Regions from separate parts of the Homo sapiens genome. Here region 2 is linked to region 1. The links are contacts of gene promoters, found by promoter capture Hi-C in blood cells and fetal thymus (Javierre and others, 2016). All regions are on one chromosome and are shown on one strand. The core of a region is centred on a gene start or on the middle of the fragment in contact, and the rest is flanking DNA. Distances in the headings are between cores, read along the strand shown. Region 1 holds the start of CCDC93 (CCC complex scaffolding subunit CCDC93). Region 2 has its middle 30 kb from the start of EN1.

Region 1 (2,700 bases), core at 14-2,513:
CTGTCCTTTCAGACTATATATATTCCCAGCTTCTGGACACAGAACACAGTGATCCCTCAATTAGTGGATACTTGTGATATGAAAGAACTGAGGATTTGGGAGGAATGCAGAGGAGTAACATTGGTCACTGGCAGGTAAGTGTGAAGGGACGACTCACCACGTCAAGCAAGCAGTCACCCTGCCCAATGCCTGCTCCAGAACCTTAGGAAAAAGGCAGAGGTGCGGCGTGGCTTCCATTTCTCTCCAGAATCCAGTAAACTAGACTAGCCTTTGAGTAAAATCAACTGAAAGGGACGACAGATGCAAACTACCTATGAGATGCTAAGTGGTATTTGCAGCCAAAAGAAAATGAATACACTTTCCCTGTATTCCCAGCAAACGTGGAAATCCGCAAACCACTCATGACCCCCTCCCTAGCACTAAGTGAGTACTTAACAAACACCTTTGGAAAAGAACCCCGCCCTCTTCTGGAGAAGCCGCAGCCTTTCCGCCCAGAGCCGGGTCCCCCGCCACACAGCACCCCTGGAGTGCGTCCCACCCCGAACGCCCCGGCGCGCTGACCCAGCGGGACACCTCCCTGGTGCGCGCAAGTCTCCCAAACTTCCTCCCGCCGCCCCGGCCCGGGTCCACGCAAGGAGGGTGGCATTCCCTCCCGACAGCAAGGCGGGTGGGGCGGGCCGCCGGGACTCTGCGGGGTGGCGGTAGACGTCCCAAGGTCACCACCCGAGCCCGAACCGCCTCGGAGAGCGGTCTCGTGACTCCAGCGCCCAGCAGCCTCGGCCCTCGGGGCTAGCCCTGCGGCGCGGGGTGGGGGAGCCCGTCCCGGACAGGGAGAAAGGTGGGAGCCCAGGACCCCGCGGCGCGTGGGGCTGCGTCAGAGCAGGTGTCGGGCTAGGAAGGCCACCTGCGCCCCAAGAGACCCGGGAGCGGCTTAAGTTTGTCCTCACCCGCCCGCCGCCCCCTGCCCATGCAGGGGTACCTGCTCCCCGCCTCCAAGAAGAGGGTCGGCGCTTCCCTGAGGTGGATACGCCTGAGGAAGGGGGCGGGGCGCCCCTAACGCACCCAGGGCCCGCTCAGCCCGCCGCCCCGCGGCTCGGCCCTCTCTTCAGGAACCCCGACGTGTCAGGGAAGGAGGAGGCGTTCTTACCTCCGGGAGACCCTGGCCCTCCGGCCCCCTGGGCAACCCCATGATCCGACCGGGCTGTCGTAAGGCGAGAGCGAAGCCCGCCAAGCGTCCGGAGGAAGCTGTCCCTGCCGCGGAGCTGCTACCGGGGTGGAGTACAAAGCGGAAACTCCCTCTGCCGCCGCCGCCGCCGCCGCCGCCGCCTGCCCGAAGCGCCGCAGCCGGGCAGAGCATGCGCGCTGGGGCCGGAGCGCGGCGCCACTGCGCCTGCGCCACAGCAGCCCGGGGAGAGGTGGGCTGGGCTGCAGGTCCTGGCGTTGTGCTGGATCATCGCGCCCGTACTCTGAAGTTTTCTCCGTGGCGCTCTTTGAGAGGGGTTCCTCCTGCATCTTGAGAATATTTTGCATTTCGGCTCCCTTCTCTTCTCGCTGCCATCGGATGCCCCAAATAGGTCCTGTCCCCTCGGTGAATCAGACTTCGGAAACCGCCTCGCTTCAGGGTCAGAGTCCAAGTACAGATGAGCTTGAGGATTCTGAATGCACGCCCGGCTCTAGACCTTACAGACACACGCTTGGACAGACTTCTCCATATACGACCCAGGAACGGACCCCTTGAGAAGGGATTCTTCAAGCCCGCTGCCCTCTCCAGCGTCCTGGCCAGTGGCATCGCGTTCCCAGGAAACCTCGCTTCAGATATTGCCCACCACCCCGCCCTATTCACGGTTCCTGGGTCTTCCTGGAGGAATGACATCTCAGAGAATGCGGACTCCTATGTTCATGTCATTTGAGCCGCCGCGTCCCTTATTTGATGTACCCCTTGTTGGTCCCGGAGGATGGCAACTAGACAAAAGGTCACAGGCCCCCACACCCGCTCCATAACGGCTTCTTGGCTTTTTGTTTCTTTTAAGCAATGAGGAAAGAGATGACTTTCGTGAAAACTTTTGCTGGAGAAGAGATCCTTCCCTCTGTATATGTGTGTGGGATGGGAAGTGTCAGACTCAGACCTTTAGTTCCTTGAGATCAAAAAGGTTTCGTGTTTGCTTTCGTCTCTTCTTTGCATCCCTAGCGTCTTTAAAAGAGTAGGCAGGCGCGGTGGCACATGCCTGTAATCCCAGCACTTTGGGGGTCGAGGCGGGAGTATCACTTGAACCTAGGAGTTGGAGACCAACCTGGGCAACATAGTGAGACCTCCATCTCTACAAAAAATAAGAAAATTAGCCCGGTGCCAGTGGTCCCAGCTAGCCGGTAGGCTGAGGTGGGAGAATTGCTTGAGCCAGGAAGGTTGAGGTTGCAGTGAGCTATGATAACACCACTGCACTCCTGCTTGGGTGACAGAGCAAGACCCTGTCTAAAAACTATATATATATACGTGTATATATATATATGTGTGTATATATATATACGTGTATATATGTGTGTATATATATACGTGTATATATATATGATGTTTTCTATTTTATTTTATTTTTGCACCTTTTGTACTCCTCCTGGAGTTCATCCTGACAGACAGAGGTTTGTCTGGAGCCAGAGCTCACAAATAGTTGGAACTGCCCTAAGGATGCCATTTTGTTCTTAAAT
Region 2 (2,865 bases), core at 193-2,692, 860 kb after region 1:
GAATCACCAGTGGGCCCATAGTAGCTGTGGGAGATTTACTGTAGTGCCTACTGTATGCAGAGCCCTACTAAGTGCTACATGCCATGCCCCGTATAGTTTAGACCTTAACACACTACGTGAAGGAGAGATTTTTACCCTCATTTTATAGGCAATGAGTTGAGGCACATTGAAGGAAAAACCCTTTATTGAGGTCCCCTGGACCACCGTGGATCCAGACTTTAAATCTGACTTCCATCCTGCTCCGCTGCCCATGAACAACCCATTTGTCAACTTTACCCCACCACGGGGCTAGGCCAGGCTCCGCCACCATTCTTCATGTTCTGAGTAGAAACAACTGCTAGGACCTCAAAAAGAGACACCAAGAGCTTTCTCCTGGTGCAAGAAACCAAGAAGTGAGGACGGAGGAGATGATAGAGAAGGGGAAATGGTGGTGGTGGCGGGGGTGGGGAGTTCCCACTCCATAGTTTGTCCTGCCTCCCAAGTCCCTTTCCTCCCTCCCCGATCATCTGAAGCACAGCTTCTCTGCAAGCTCAGGGATTTCTCTTACCTCCATCTCCCCTGACCCAGCCCTGCCACCTGCCCGCTATGTCTGTGGTCCAGTAGTCCACTCAGATAGGCATCATTCCCTTACAAAGCTATGAAAACTCAATCCTCACCCTTGTTTTTTGTTAAATCACAAGAAACCCACATTTGCGACTTACTCATCCCCTCCTGTGAGAGCAGACCCTGAGGTGGCTCCTGGGATTCCCACCTCCTGGGACCCACGCACTGTGTAATTCCCTCCCCTGTGGGTAAGCTGGTGTTTGGAACTCACTTCTAGGGAAAAGAAAAACAGGAGCCTTGGGGTTTAACTTTGATGTTCATCTGTATGAATCATCTCATTCTGGAGTCCTGGAGCAATCATATTAGAGTCTGATTGAAAGCTATACACCCTCTCCCAACACAAACGCACATTATGCACAGTGAATTTGCAACTACTTTCAAGAGGTTCATGAGCCCTTTCCTAAAGCCCCATCTTGGAGACCCTTAATTTATGGTCTCCAAGTAAAGGCCCCATTTCCTGAATGGTTAATATTTCTTTTAAACAGAGTTTACCATCCACTAGGTGTGACTGTGGGCACTGGTAAGAGCTGGTAAGAGCTGTAACGGGGTAAGAGCTGGAATGGGGTTTGTAAACCATGAAGTTATCTACAAAGGCTTGGTGATGTTACTTGGATTAACCAGCCCTTGGGTTGACTTTTCGGTTGACTGGTAGGAGCTGGAAAGGTGTTCGAATCCAGCCCATCTGGCTCTAGACTGCCTCCCTGTTTTATAAGAAAATCATAGAGGTGTTTGCTGTTGTTTCTACTTGTTCTGCTTTGTTTTATGTATATTCTATAGAGACTGAAATGCACAGATTTTAAGCGTACATTTTGAGGAGTTTTGACAAATGTATACTCCTGTGTGATTCCCACCCAAATCAAGATATTCAACATCTCCATCTTCCCAGAAAGTCCCACAGGCTCCTCTCACTCACTCCCTTCCTGCTCCCCATCATGCTAAGGTGGCCACCATTTTGAATGCTGTTTCCATCGATTCCTTTTGCTGCTTCTTGACCATCACATAAGTGGACTCATAAATACAGTCAACCCTCTCTGTCCATGGGTTCCACATTCATGGAGTCAACCAACTGTGGATCAAAAATATTTGAAGAAGAAAACAATAAAAAATAACAATACAGCAATAAAAACTATATAAATAAAAATACATAATAATTATTTGCATAGCATTTATATTGTTTTAGGTATTATACATAATCTAGAGATGATTTAAAGCACACGGGAGGATGTGCGTAGGTTATATGCAAATACTATGCCATTTTACATAAGGGACTTGAGCATTCATGGAGTTTAGCGTCCACTGGGATCCTGGAACCAATTCCCCCAGGATGCCAAGGGATAACTGAACATACACTTTTGCATCTGGCTTCTTTCACTCAGCATAATTTCTGTAAGATTCATCCATGTGGTTGTACATATTTGGAAATTTGTCCCCTTTAATTACTGAATAGAAATTTATCGTATGAATGTACTATAGTTTGTTTATTCATTCTCCTTTGACTGACACAAGGACATCTCTAATTTGGTGGTATGATGAATAAAGCTGCTACAAATATTTTGAAGTCTTTTGTGGGCATATATAGATTCATTTCTCTCGGGTAAAGACCTAGGGATGAAACTGCTGAGCCAAAGGATAGGTGTGTGTTTACATTTGTTAGAAACTTTCAGACAGTTTTCTAAAGTGGTTGTGTCATGTTATCTTTCATTTAACCTTCAATATTAGATGTATTTTAAGCTGCCGTAAATATCTTTTGGAAGTAGGTGAGTTTTAAGTGAAGGAATGAATGAATGATGGATGGATGACCCAACAATTCAGCTATCCTCTAACCCAGTATGTGGCCAACACAGAGCCTGTGCTCACTGTCCTCATCCTGCTGGGTTTCTTGAACTCAGGGTGGCTCCATCTGCACAGCAAACCACACCACCAAGGCTGGCCCCTCCTAGCTTTTCAACCCCATTGCCACTGTAGATGCCTTGGCAGGAAATCCAGCCAGGCTCATCCTAAAGAAATCCCATTCCCTTTGCTAGAGCAGGAGCAGGAAGCCCATGCTGTTGGCTATAGAGAGGAGCAGTCAGCTCAGGCACTGCTCTCAGCTCTGTTACCAACCAGGTGTCCAAAGAAGCTGAGTATCCCTCTCTCTGGGTGCCAGCATACTCCTCGTTTGTTTTGGGCTCTCAGAGGTCAACTGTGGGCAGTGACTCATCCAGTGGATTATGAAATGGAAGAGGCTGAGGCTGGCCTCAGGTGCCAGTTCCATCACTCCTT

What was found. The method cuts DNA at HindIII sites, captures the fragments that hold promoters and counts their contacts. A CHiCAGO score of 5 or more calls a contact.
Region 2: a contact is called between a fragment that was not itself captured here and the fragment with the promoter of CCDC93 in region 1, in 1 of 17 cell types (non-activated CD4 T cells). The highest score is 5.8, in non-activated CD4 T cells.

The regions. Positions count from the first base shown.
Region 1 is chr2:118,012,807-118,015,506 of GRCh38, forward strand. CCDC93 (CCC complex scaffolding subunit CCDC93) reads right to left here and starts at 1,264. Exons shown (of 24, transcript NM_019044.5): 1 at 1,148-1,264. The coding sequence starts at 1,189. RefSeq lists silencers at 752-801, 1,272-1,471. The HindIII fragment of the contact is 9,438 bases long and covers 1-2,700 here.
Region 2 is chr2:118,875,930-118,878,794 of GRCh38, forward strand. No RefSeq gene overlaps it. Among named protein-coding and RNA genes, the nearest start is that of EN1, 30 kb to the left of the region's middle. The HindIII fragment of the contact is 5,915 bases long and covers 1-2,865 here.